5 separate regions of the Homo sapiens genome follow, and all the other regions are linked to region 4. The links are contacts of gene promoters, found by promoter capture Hi-C in blood cells and fetal thymus (Javierre and others, 2016). All regions are on one chromosome and are shown on one strand. Each heading gives the region's core, a stretch centred on a gene start or on the middle of the fragment in contact. The rest is flanking DNA. Distances are from core to core; before and after follow the strand shown. Region 1 overlaps CPSF6 (cleavage and polyadenylation specific factor 6). Region 2 overlaps CPSF6 (cleavage and polyadenylation specific factor 6). Region 3 has its middle 24 kb from the start of MIR1279. Region 4 holds the start of LRRC10 (leucine rich repeat containing 10). Region 5 has its middle 61 kb from the start of CPSF6.

Evidence for each region. Contacts are between HindIII fragments. The CHiCAGO score rates a contact against its expected background, and 5 or more counts as called.
Region 1: a contact is called between a fragment that was not itself captured here and the fragment with the promoter of LRRC10 in region 4, in 1 of 17 cell types (non-activated CD4 T cells). The highest score is 5.8, in non-activated CD4 T cells.
Region 2: a fragment that was not itself captured here is called in contact with the fragment with the promoter of LRRC10 in region 4 in 1 of 17 cell types (total CD8 T cells); the score reaches 5.8 in total CD8 T cells.
Region 3: a fragment that was not itself captured here is called in contact with the fragment with the promoter of LRRC10 in region 4 in 7 of 17 cell types (naive CD4 T cells, naive CD8 T cells, non-activated CD4 T cells and 4 more); the score reaches 7.8 in naive CD4 T cells.
Region 5: a contact is called between a fragment that was not itself captured here and the fragment with the promoter of LRRC10 in region 4, in 1 of 17 cell types (total CD4 T cells). The highest score is 5.8, in total CD4 T cells.

What each region holds. Positions count from the first base shown.
Region 1 is chr12:69,273,665-69,276,364 of GRCh38, reverse strand. CPSF6 (cleavage and polyadenylation specific factor 6) reads right to left here. Exons shown (of 10, transcript NM_007007.3): 10 at 2,007-2,700. Among named protein-coding and RNA genes, the nearest start is that of MIR1279, 1.8 kb to the right of the region's middle. The HindIII fragment of the contact is 305 bases long and covers 1,244-1,548 here.
Region 2 is chr12:69,253,343-69,256,042 of GRCh38, reverse strand. All of the region lies in intron 3 of CPSF6 (cleavage and polyadenylation specific factor 6), which reads right to left. Among named protein-coding and RNA genes, the nearest start is that of CPSF6, 15 kb to the right of the region's middle. RefSeq lists an enhancer at 1,943-1,992. The HindIII fragment of the contact is 226 bases long and covers 1,254-1,479 here.
Region 3 is chr12:69,296,216-69,298,915 of GRCh38, reverse strand. No RefSeq gene overlaps it. Among named protein-coding and RNA genes, the nearest start is that of MIR1279, 24 kb to the right of the region's middle. The HindIII fragment of the contact is 2,838 bases long and covers 1-2,700 here.
Region 4 is chr12:69,609,490-69,612,189 of GRCh38, reverse strand. It overlaps LRRC10 (leucine rich repeat containing 10), which reads left to right and starts at 1,283. Exons shown (of 1, transcript NM_201550.4): 1 at 1,283-2,700. The coding sequence starts at 1,352. The coding sequence ends at 2,185. The HindIII fragment of the contact is 9,863 bases long and covers 1-2,700 here.
Region 5 is chr12:69,177,491-69,180,190 of GRCh38, reverse strand. No RefSeq gene overlaps it. Among named protein-coding and RNA genes, the nearest start is that of CPSF6, 61 kb to the left of the region's middle. RefSeq lists a silencer at 116-316. The HindIII fragment of the contact is 688 bases long and covers 913-1,600 here.

The DNA of each region.
Region 1 (2,700 bases), core at 147-2,646, 340 kb after region 4:
GTGGTGAAAAACCGTCTCTACTAAAACTACAAAAAATAAATAAATAAATAAATAAATAAAAATAATAAAAAAAAATTGGCCGGGTGTGATGGCTCACACCTATAGTCTCAGCTACTCGGGATGCTGAGGCTGAAGAATCACTTGAACCTGGAAGGCACAGGTTGCAGTGAGCCAAGAATGCGCCACTGCACTCCAGCTTGGGTGAGAGAGCGAGACTGTCTCAAAAAATAAAATGTTAATAGCAATCCCCTAAAAAACAACAGGACAGCATCGGTGATTGTGTTCTTCAGCTGGGTTGACAACCGTTAAAGTGAAAACTGATGAAGACAATTACTGCCTTCTCCGTCCCATAGCTTGATCCATCTACCCTCTCCCAGGGGATGAATGTGTTACTAGATGGACTGCCACCATAAAAATGGGAGCCTTATCTTAGATAGCAAACCCTGACAATCTCACAGATAAACACTGTTACTTCTAAACTAAGCCATGCCCACACCACAATGCCCTCAATTTCTATTTCAAAGAAAACATAAGTCACTAAATATGACATCTTAAAATTTCTACCACACACCTACAGCCCACAAACTTCTATTTTTATCTACCCTTATCTTCTCTCCTGACAGGAAGAGGTGTTTCTCTTTTATCTATTCTTTTATCAATTTAATCTGCAGCCAAGAAGCTTTTTGAAATGTTGATTATGACACTTCACACAATTCAATGATTCCACATGACTCTTAGGACAATCTTTAATGTGACCTACAAGCTCCGGAGAGCCTAGCCTTGCCAACTGCTTGAGCTCCACACATAGGCTATGTTCTTCACTCCCTGCTTCAGCCAAACTGGCATTCTTTCAGTTCCTACTAGCATGCTCCTCTTGCCAAAAGCCCTTTTTGCAAGTCTCTGCCTAAAAGGTACTTCCCTTTCCCATTCACCATTTTTTTCCTACAGATCTCAGTATAACATTAAAGTAGTAAATTTCATTTTTTAAAGTTTTTCTATAAAATGAATATAGATTTTTGAAAGGTAAAGTATATATCATTTATCTGGAACTGACAATAGTTTATCAGAACTGATGTACCACACGAAAATCCAAGAACTGTTAATGAACTATAAATGGGAGAAAAAGACCAACAACATCATTGGAAATCATTTCTAATAATTATTGTTTCATGGTAATGGCTCTGAAACAAAACTAGGAAGACTGGGAAAAGTCTGTCCATAAATCTTTTGTAAAAAAAAAGCTTCTCTCTTTCACTAAATTAGGTCTTGAACTGAGTCATATGTAGTGTGGCATCTGGCCAAAAAATATTCCTAATGATCTTCTCTTAAAGTTAAATGACCTCACAGGGTAGGGACGAGAGTCTCAACTAATTCAACACAAATAGGGATTGATCAATGGAAACATACAACAAACAGTAACAGGAAATCTAACAAAAATCTGAACCACAATTTTAGTGGAGGCATGGAAAGGGATCCCAGTGATGGTAGTATTATTTCTCATGTTCATATTCACTTGTTTAGAACTGTTACCTTTAATACTCTGAAGCTTGCAGGTAAGAAATCTGAGGCCTGATATTAATACCTGGCACAGAAATATCTACTGAAATCACTGAAACTGAAGTCTGTTACTGTTTCAAAAGTACCCCATAATGTTTCCAAGCTAACCAGTAAAATATTTTTGCTACAAACATTTTTACTTAAGTCTAGTAAGGTTAATGATCCTCTAAAACTAGACAAATGCTTTCTGAATCTTCCATTTAAAAACCATGTAACAGCCTGGAAATCTGTCAGGCCTCTTAATCCTAATTTTAGCCCAATTATCAGTCGCTTTAAAGAGCACCAAAATGTCAATACACAAGAAAACCACCACTATCTGGCTTAAAGATAGAATACAGACAACAGTCCAATTTCTGCTATACTGCATATTGCCAATAAACATTAACTACTTAAAACCATACACAATGGTTACCAAATAACAAATTAAACAAAAAAGACAAACTGCAAAGTCTTATCAAAAGTTTGTTTTATTTTCAATACAAGATAAATACCATGCTTGTTACTAGTGCAGTTTAAGGCCGACAATGGCCATATATCAAACTGCCGAACAGTCACCTAAATGCTAAAGAAAGGAAAGACAAAGTAAACATTAAACACAAAATTGCAATTACAAACATTTTAATAAAATGGAATGAGCTTTTTAATTGAAGCTAATATGAAGTCTAATTCTCATGGACAGCAAAAAAAAAAAAAAAAAAGTCTATTAGATCAATTATCACCTTACCTTTTTGCACAGAAATCTTATTGTGAAGTCACCATAGAGTCAATAGCTAAAATTTTAAGACTTTCTTTGGCCTTCTGATATTAAACAAATTATTTACAAACTGTGATCAGTAATTCGTGGATATTGGTAAAATGATACAATTTTTTGTTGTTGTTGTTAAGGGCTTTCCATTAAAAATTGTAAAACAACTTTGTAAGGCTGTACAGGGCTGTAAACTACTTTGCTAATATACCATGGGATGCAGAGGAAGGAATAATAGACCTTTTTTTTAAGGCTAAAGTTATCAATGTTATAGATGCATTCCTTAAAATACATTATGATTTATACCCAAAGGATCCTTTCCCATTAAATACCACCTGAGTACTACAATTTTCAAAGTAAAAAAATAAACATGAATTCACCATAGTTATTTTAAAATA
Region 2 (2,700 bases), core at 117-2,616, 360 kb after region 4:
GAATAATTTTCCATTATAAATATACAACATTAAAAGAAATGTATCCATCAGTTCATGGACATTTGGGTTGCTTCCACTTTTTGCTACAATAAAAAGATGTACAATATCATTAACTATTGGGGAAGTGCAAATCAAAACCACAAGATACCACCCCATACCCACTAGGGTGGCTATAATCAAAAAGACAAGTATTAAAGATGTGGAGAGGCCGGGTGCAGTGGCTCACGCCTATAATCTCAGCACTTTGGGAGGCCAAGGCAGGAGGATCATGAGGTCAGGAGTTCAAGACCAGCCTGACCAACATGGTGAAACCCCGTCTCTACTAAAAATTCAAAAATTAGCCAGGCATGGTGGCGTGTGCCTGTAGTCCCACGCTGGGAGGCTGAGACAGGAGAATCGCTTGAACCTGGGAGGCAGAAGTTGCAATGAGCCAAGATTGCGCCACTGCACTCCAGCCTGGGTGACAGAGTGAGACTCTGTCTCAATAAATAAATAAATAAATAAATATGTGGAGAAACTGGAACCATTGCACATTGCTGATGAGCACGTATTAATAAAATGGCACAATGCCTCTGGCAAATAATCTGGTAATTCCTCAAACATTTAAACATAGAGTTACTATATTAACCCAGTAATTCCATTCCTAGGTACACATCCAACAGAACTGAAAATACATGTTCACACAAAATGGGTACACAAATATTCACAGGGGCATTTTCCTTAATAGCCAAAAGTGGAAATAACCTAGACGTCCATCGACTGATAGATTAAAAGAAAAAAGTGCTATATCCATGTAGTGGAATATTACTCAGCCATAAAAAGAAATGCTGATGCATGCTTCAACATGGATGAACCTTAAAATCATTATGCTAAGGAAAAAAGCCAGTCACATAGGACTACGTATTTTATGATTCCATTTAGATGAAATGTCCAGAACAGGCATATCCAGAGCACGTTAGCAGTTGCCAGCAGATAGGAAGAGAGGAAATGGGAGTGACTGCTAACCAGGTACAAGGTTCCTTCTTGGAGTGATGAAATGTTCTGGAATGAGACAGTGGTAATGGTTGCTAAACTTCATAAATATAATAAATTATCATTGAATTGTACATTTAAAAGCCTGCATTTTATGGCATATGAATTATACCTCAAAAAGAAAAACAAATTTAAAATAATCAGAATGATTACCAATTCGTATAGTTACAGGATATTCTAAATTATTTGAGGGAGGGAGGGTCTTAGTAGCTTAAGAAGCTTAAGCTCTTTTCCCCCTAATGTTCAATATGATCTTTTAAATTATCCTTCTTATTTTAGTCAACAAGTTCTGCTGTTTGCACCAGGATTATCTTGGGTCACAACATTTAGAAAAAACTAAATTAATTTAACAAATATTTATTAAGCACCACTTCTTATACGCAAGGTACCATTCTAGAGCTGGAGAAGTAATAGAGAACAAAACAAAATCTCTGTTCTCATTAAGCTTAAAGGCTTGGAAGAGGAGACAACAAACGAGTAAAATATATCAGAGCAGAAATAAAGGAAACAGGATAGGAAGGTGCTACTTTGCACAAGATGGTCATGGAAGAAAACTCTTAAACAGTTTGAGTCCTGAATGAAGTCAAAGAGTAAGCCATGTGGATATTTGAGGGGGAAAAGTAAACCAAGAAGAGAAAACAGCTAAAGGTCCTAGGTAGGAATTGGTCTGGCCAACAGCAAAGAGACTAATGTGGCTGAAAAAGAGTGGTAGGATAGGGTTAGAAAGGTGGTGGGAAAACAGACCAGAAAGTACCTTGTAGACAATGGTAAAGAATGAGACAGACAGGAAACCATGAGAAGATTGAGCAGAATGTCATTTTTTTTTTAGAACTTCTGTTATGTGGAGTACAGACTGTAGGGGGCAGTCTATACTTCCAGTTAGGAAGCTACTGCCAAAGTTTAAGTGAGAGATGATAGTGGCTTTGACCAAGTGGTATAAGTAAAGTTAGTGAGAAGTATTCAGACTCTGCATATATTTTGAAAATATTCTCAGTTTAGTATAAATTGGTATAATCTTCTAAGATAAGTAAGCAATATAAGAAATAAGAAAATTCTTTATCATTGTGCATCTAACAATTTATCCTTAAAAGAAAATCCAAAATCTGTACCAAAAGACTTATATAAAATGATGTCTGCTGCAACATTATTTACAATAGGCAAAAGTGGAAACCACCACGATAACCAAAAATAAGAAAGGTAAATTACAGTAGCATACCAGGTATGATGCAAAAGAATTAGACATTAGAGAGGATGTGTATTTATTTTTATTCCTTATATCAAACATATAAAACACATGAATTATAATTCCATTATTTATTTATTTATTTATTTTTAGGAAAAAGCCCAAAAGAATCTTCACTAAAATGTTAAAAGTAAACATCAATGAATGGTAGGACAGTGGTATTTTATTTTCTTACTTTTAGATATCTGTATTTATAATGTTCTCATGCTGAGGCTATCCCACTTGTATAGTTTAGTAGTGAAATAAAGCAAAATATCCATGTAACACATTATTCAGTTGCCCATCTTCTCCCATCTCTTAATCACAGGGAGAGTAATGGTTCTTAAACTGTCATTTCAACAACCATTTCAACCACAGATAGAGAAAACTTGGGAAAAATAGAAAATAAATCTGTCCACATTTCCACTCTACTGGTTTTAGTGTGT
Region 3 (2,700 bases), core at 163-2,662, 310 kb after region 4:
AATCTCCTTTGACTTCATGTCCCATATCCAGGGCACACTGATATGAGGGTTGGGCTCCCAAAGCCTTGAGCAGCTCTGCCCCTGTGACTTTGTGGGTTCTGCCCCACAGCTGATCTCACAGGCTGTTGAGTGCATGCAGCTTTTCCAGGCACAGGGTGCAAGCTGCCAGTGGATCTACCACTCTGGGTTCTTGAGGACAGTGGTCCCCTCCACTAGGCAGTGCCTCAGTGAGGACTCTGTGTGTGGGCTCCAACTACACATTTCCCCTCAGCACTGCCCTAGCAGAGGTTCTTTTTGAGGGCTCTGCCCCTGTAGCAGGCTTCTGCCTGGGCACCCAGGCTTTTTCATATATCCTCTGAAATACAGATGAAGGCTGGCACACCTCATTCACTCTTTCACCCTACAGGCTTAACACCATGTGGAAGGCACCAAGGCTTACAGTGGCTTTCACTCTCCAGAATGGTGGCATGAGCAGTATCTGGGGTCTTTTGAGCCAAGGCTTGAGCCAGAGTGGCCAGAATGTAGGGAACAGTGTCCTAAGGCTGTGCAGGGCAATGGGGCCCTGGACCTGGCCCATGAAACCATTCTTCCCTCCTAGGCCTCTGGGCCTGTGATGGAGGTGCTGCCATGAAGGTCTCTGAAATGGCTTTGAGGTCTTTTTCCCACTCTCTTTGATATCAGCACTTGGCTCCCTTTTAGTTATGCAAATATCTCTAGCAAGATATTGCTCCACAGCCTGCTTCAATTTCTCTCTCGAAAAACCTTTTACTCTCTTTGCCACATAGCTAGGCTGCAAAATTTCCAAATATTCTCTTATCTTCCTATCTTCTTCTCTGCCCTCCAAACTCTTCCAGCGTCTGCCTGTTACCCAGCTCCAAAGTCAGTTCCACATTTTCAGGCATCTTTATAGCAATGCTCCACTCCTCAGCACCAATTTTCTATATTAGGCCATTCTTGCATTGCTATAAAGAAATATCCAAGACTGGGTAATTTATAAAGAGGTTTCACTGGCCCATGGTTGTGCAGGCCATACAAGCATGGCATCAACATTGCTCATCTTCTGGGGAGGCCTCAGGGAGCTTTTACTCGTGGTAGAAGGTGAAGTGGGAGCTTGCACATCACATGTTGAAAGCAAGAGCAAGAGAGAGAGAGAGAGGTGGGAGAGGTGCCACATACTTTTAAATGGCCAGATCTCATGCAAACTCAGAGCAAGTGCTCACTTATCACCAGGGGGATGGCCCGAGTCATTCATAGGGGATCCACCTGATAATCCAAACACCTCCCACCAGGCCCCACCTCCAACATTTCAACATGAGATTTGGTTACAGACAAATAACCAAACTATAGGCCAGGTGCAGTGGGTCATGCCTGCAATCCCAGCACTTTGGGAAGCCAAGGTGGGTGGATCATGAGGTCAAGAGATCGAGACCATCCTGGACAACATGGTGAAACCCTGTCTCTACTAAAAATACAAAAATTAGCTGGGCATGGTGGTGCACACCTGTAGTCCCAGCTACTTGGGAGGCTGAGGCAGAAGAATCACTTGAACCCGGGAGGCAGAAGTTGCAGTGAGCTGAGATCATGCCATTGCCCTCCAGCCTGGTGACACAGTGAGACTCCATCTCAAATAAAATAAAATAAAATAAAATAAAATAACCAAACTACAGCAATCTTAATCATTTTTTACTTAAAAATGATTACATTTCAGTAGTGTTAAATATATTCACATTATTGTGCAACAGATATCTAGGATGCTTTCATCTTGCAAAACTGAAACTTTATACCCCCAAACACTAATTCCTCTTCCCCCAACCTCCAGCCCTTAAAAACTACCTTTCTGCACTCTGTTTCTATAATTTCTGACCACTCTAAATACACCATATGAGTGGAATCATATAGTATTTGTCCTTTTATGAATGGTTTATTTCACTCAACATCATGTCCTTGAGGATCATTCATGTTGTAGCATATGACAGAATTCCTTAAGGCTGCATAGTATTCCATTGTATAAATATACCACACTTTCCTTATCCATTCATCTGTTGATGGACATTTGGGTTGCTTGCACCTCTTGGCTATTATGAATAATGCCACAATAAACATAAGTGTGCAAGTATCATTTAGAGACCTTGCTTTCAATTATTCTGCATGTATACCCAGAAATGAGATTGCTAGATCACATGGTTTTTCTATTTTTAATTTTTTGAGGAACCGCCATATGGTTTTCCACAGTGGCTGTGCCATTTTACATGACCACCACCAATACACAAGTGTTCCAACTTCTCCATATCCTCTCCGACATGTGTTATTTTCTGTTTTTTTGACAGTGGCCATACTGGTAGGTGTGAGATAATATCTCATTGTGGTCTTGATTTCCATTTCTTTAATGATTGGTGATGCTGGGCATTGTCCTGTGCATTTATTGGCCATTCACATATCTCTGGAAAAATGTCTATTTTGATCCTTTGCCCATTTTTAACTTAAGTTTTTGTTGTTGAGTTGTAGAAGTTCCTTATATGTTCTGGATATTAACCCCTTATCAGGTACATAATTTGCAGTTATTTTCTCCCATTCTATAGGTTTTCTTTTCACTGTTTCCTTTAGTGTGCTAAAGCACTTAAGTGTAATGTAGTCCCATTATCAATTACTGCTTTTCTTGCCTAGTGTTTTTGGTGTCATATCCAAAATATCATCGCCAAA
Region 4 (2,700 bases), core at 34-2,533:
CTGTAAATGATGCATATCTATGATCCAGCAACACTTTTTTTTTTTTTTTTTTTGAGATGGAGTCTTGCTCTGTCGCCCAGGCTGGAGTGCAGTAGCGCAATCTCGGCTCACTGCAAGCTCCGCCTCCTGGGTTCACGCCATTCTCCTGCCTCAGCCTCCCAAGTACTTGGGATTATAGGTGTGTGCCACCACACCCAGCTAATTTTTGTTTTTTTTAGTAGAGATGGGGTTTTACCATGTAGCCTAAGCTGACCTCAAACTCCTGGGCTTAAGTGATTGGCTCACCTTGGCCTCCCAAAGTGCTGGGATTACAGGCGTGAGCCACCACACCTGGCCTGCTCCAGCAACACTTCTAAGGACGGTTTCTAAAGAAATGAGTGGATTGCTGCTCACATCTGTATGCACATGGATGTTTATAATAGTCATGCTTTGTAAACAACCTAGATGCCTAACCACAGAAAACTGTTTAAATTACTGCACATCCATGTAATGGAATACTATGCAGGGGTTTAAAATAATTGCATAGATATCTGCAAACATGAAAATATGTCCATGATACGTCATGATTAAAAAATAAGGTTCCTGGTCAAGTACCATGGCTCACGCCTGTAATCCCAGCATTTTGAGAGGCCAGGGCGGGCAGATCTCTTGAGCCCAGGAGTTCAAGACCAGCCTGGGCAACATGGCGAAACCTCATCTCTACAAAAAATACAAAAATTAGCTGGGCACGGTGGTGTGCACCTGTAGTCCCAGCTACTCAGGAGGCTGAGGTGTGAGGATTGCTGGAGCCAGGGAGGTAGAAGCTGTAGTGAGCCAAGATTGCACCACTGCACTCCCGCCTGTGTGACAGAATGAGACCCTGTCAAAAAAAAAAAAAAAAAAAGCTCCTAAAGTGCAATTTTAAAAAACAAATGATTACTTATAGCGAAAAGACTAGAGGACACATGCAAATGTGTACAGTATTTATCTCTGGGTAATAGAACTATGGGTGTTTTTCATTTTCTTCTTTTACACCTTTATGTAATGTGTTAATATTTTATCATTAGGGAAAAAAACAGCAAAGCTATTTTCAGCTTGAAATGAAAAAAGGTTGATAAAGGGGATTGGGGCTTAGGTGATTAAAGGCAAGCATGTGAGTCAGACATGGCCTCCCAGCCCCTGCCGGACTGTTGCGCTGTCGCCGGACACTCAAGTTGCTATCAGGAGCACTTTTCTCTGTCAAAGTGACTGGCTTTTGTCATGCAATCCCCAAGTTATAATGGGAGGGTAGGATAGGCCCCAGAGCAGTCAGCTGAGCCAGCCCCGCTCAGTGAGTCTGTCCTCTGGGGCTCGCCATGCCCCCAGCCTCCGCATGGGGAACACCATCAGGGCCCTCGTGGCCTTCATCCCTGCTGACCGTTGCCAGAACTATGTGGTCAGGGACCTCCGTGAGATGCCGCTGGACAAGATGGTGGATCTGAGTGGGAGCCAGTTACGCCGCTTCCCCCTGCACGTGTGCTCCTTCAGGGAGCTGGTCAAGCTCTACCTGAGCGACAACCACCTCAATAGCCTGCCTCCGGAGCTGGGGCAGCTACAGAACCTGCAGATTCTGGCCTTGGATTTCAACAACTTCAAGGCTCTGCCCCAGGTGGTGTGCACCTTGAAACAGCTCTGCATCCTCTACCTGGGCAACAACAAACTCTGCGACCTCCCCAGTGAGCTGAGCCTGCTCCAGAACCTCAGGACCCTGTGGATCGAGGCCAACTGCCTCACCCAGCTGCCGGATGTGGTCTGTGAGCTGAGTCTCCTTAAGACTCTGCATGCCGGCTCCAACGCCCTGCGTTTGCTGCCAGGCCAGCTCCGGCGCCTCCAGGAGCTGAGGACCATCTGGCTCTCGGGCAACCGGCTAACTGACTTTCCCACTGTGCTGCTTCACATGCCCTTCCTGGAGGTGATTGATGTGGACTGGAACAGCATCCGTTACTTCCCCAGCCTGGCGCACCTGTCAAGTCTGAAGCTGGTCATCTATGACCACAATCCTTGCAGGAACGCACCCAAGGTGGCCAAAGGTGTGCGCCGTGTGGGGAGATGGGCAGAGGAGACGCCAGAGCCCGACCCTAGAAAAGCCAGGCGCTATGCGTTGGTCAGAGAGGAAAGCCAGGAGCTACAGGCACCAGTCCCTCTACTTCCTCCTACCAACTCCTGAGGAGCTTCAGTTGCAAGTCAATGCCAAGGACCCAACTGCAGCATGTTCTGGAAGCCTCTCCATTGGAGTGGAAAGGATGGCTCTGGGTCATTTGGGAGTGGCTCTGCTAGTAGAGACTGATGGAGAGAGCCAGGTGGAATGCCATAAATCACACTGAGAAAATATTTCTGGCAAACAGCTCCTCTTCCAGAGGGGAGTTGTGTGCCAATGATGGCATGACAATCCAGAGATCATAACTTCTTTGCAAGAAAACAGCTTCTCCACACATGTATTTTGAAACACTGAAGAGCAAAAGGGGCTGGGACACTCTGAACTCCTGCACTCTCCAGAAGTGACTGGTCATGAAGCTCATGAGCTCCTCAAATAAGGTATTTGCCATAGAACTAAATATTCTGGTGGTCTGTCTCTTTGCAGGACATATTTTCTTTACTGTAAATGACCATAAACAGTATCAATGTATCACTGAGGCCACCGAAAAGGACATTTCTACCTAGGCAATCAGTCAGATTCACAGA
Region 5 (2,700 bases), core at 7-2,506, 430 kb after region 4:
TCTCCCAGAACAAGAAGGCTTCTGCCAGTGCCATTCACCCAAATCAACCAAAACTTGATCTTTTGGTGGAGTTTGCCACTGTGGCAGCCAGCTACTAAGGAATTGATTACCTTGCCTTGGAGTGATCTGATTTGGTTGCTATGAATGCCTGAATAAGTCAGGTAAAGACTTTGTGGTCTGTCCTGAGGACAGATGATTATCCAATGTGTGAAAGGCAATGTGAATGAGGGTGTGAAAGATAATCAGACTGAGAGCTGGTCTCCTTATTGATATCCAGGAGCAAAACTACAGAGGCAGGCTCTATAAATAGCTGTTGTAATCACCAACCAAAGGACAGTCCTTTCTTTGTGCTTAATGTGGAAAAATCTTTTGGTCACACACCAGTGGTTTCAGTAACATCTGCACATTTTTGGCTTTTGAACACAAAAACCAAATTTTAATTCAGACTAGAAGTTATTTAAGTGAATTTTTCTTCAGTTGTGCAGAAGATAAGAGGGAGAGTCAGAAGTCAACATTATAATTTATGATCTTCATGTTTCTTTTGTCAGTTTCCAGAAGAAATCAGAAAAGAGATGGTGCGTGTGTGTGTGTGTGTGTGTGTGTGTGTTTGAAGGAGTATATATTCTTATACACTTCTATATAAAAATTTCTTTTAAAATATGTTGTAAAGACAAATCATTGCATAAACCTTAGTTCAGAAAACCTAAGTCTTCTATTTCTTTAAAAATGGAGATAAAGTCTGTACCCTGCCACCAATATCATTGATTCAGTTCAAGCCAGACGTAAACAGTCTGATTACATCACTGCTGCACATCCAGCTAGCTTCTTGGTTGAGACCTTCTGAGGTGTTAATTGCAATTGTGAATTAATCATTATTCCACTGAGCCAGAGTCTTATTTTCCTCTTCAAGCTTCTCATTATTAAGTTTGCTTGAATTGGTTAATGTGAGGACATCATCAATGCAAATTATCATTCAGCAATACAATACTAAACACGCACAACTGTTTCCATTATGCACTCTATCACGTAGAATTTTACATGTGAAAAGTCATAATTAACCACCATTCTAAAATTCTCTTTTTGTTTCTTTATTATCGTTTATGTTCATGAGTTCAGGACTTTTACCAGGATCTCTTTTTCTTCTCACACACTCCGAAACCCAAAATGAAAGCCATGGTGGTTCCACTCTTTTTGGAAAGTTACTGATTTCAGAAAAGAATAGCAATAAATATTTGGTACAAGTGCTTTTCAAAAGTACTAGCTCCTCTCTGACTTTATTTACATTAACAAAGCTATTATAGTAGTCTTGCCATGATAAAAATAATTCAGCAAAACTGATAATCTATTAAGATGAGAATGTGTAATTCCACTATTTTTCAGAAGTTTTCAGTGCTGGAAATTAAGGACTTTTAATAAAAGTGCCTCTCCATCATAGCTACAGGAAAGTTGCACTTGTATCTTGGAAACCCGTGGGACTAAGAAAGGATCTAACCAGGAGAGGATTGGGAGGTTGAGTATTTGGCACTGGGGTGGGTCAGGTGCTGGGGAGGCTGATCTGGTTGCACCTGCTGATAGTGGAAGTTTTTCTAATCAGCAAGCTTGGGCATTCAGTGGATTCTAGTTTGGGCCTGTGCTTGGAAAGGAGAGAATCAACATACAGAGATTGCAACTCAGTGTTGCTGGGCGTGGTGGCTCACACCTGTAATACTAGCACTTTGGGAGGCCGAGATGGATGGATCACCTGAGGTCAGGAGTTCGAGACCAGCCTGGCCAACATGGTGAAACCCCGTCTCTACCAAAAATACCAAAAATTAGCTGGGCATGGCAGCGTGTGCCTGTAATCTTAGCTACTTGGGAGGCTGAGGCAAGAGAATTGCTTGAACCCAGGAGGCGAAGGTTGCAGTGGGCCGAGATTGCACTATTGCACTCCAGCCTGGGCAACAAGAGCAAAACTCTGTCTCAAAGAAAAAAAAAAAAAGGAAAGTCAGTGTTGAAACCACCTTTGTAAAAATTGTGTCAGTGAGAAAATTGTGACAGAGAAAGAGATCTGATCTAACCCACCCCTCCCTTGCCTTTAGCTTTCAAGCTGCCTTAATTATTCCTGATCTTAGGCTGAGCTAACTTTGGAAGACATTTAGGTCAGGGGTCCCCAGCCCCTGGGCCACACACCAGTCTCTGGCCTGTTAGGAACCAGGCTGCACAGCAGGAGGTGAGAGATGGGTGAGAGAGCAAAACTTCATCTATATTTACGCCACTCGCCGTTACCGCCTGAGCTCCACCTCTTGTCAGATCAGCAGTGGCATTAGATTCTCATAGAAGTGTGAACCCCCTTGTGTTCTGAGTATCCCTCACATACCTGGGATCTAGGCTGCACACTCCTTAAGAGAGTCTAATGCCTCATGATCTGTCACTGACTCCCATCACCCCAAATGAGCCCATCTATTTGTAGGAAAACAAGCTAAGGATTCCACTGATTCTACATTACGGTGAGTTGTATAATTATTTCATTATGTATTACAATGTAATAATAAAAGAAATAAAGCACACAATAAATATAATGCACTTGAATTATCCCGAAACTATCCCCTCCACTCTCCATGGAAAAATTGTCTTCCATAAAACCAGTCCCTGATGCCAAAAAGGCTGGGGACCACTGAGTTAGGTTATAGTTTAAATAACCTATGGTTTATTATTAAATAA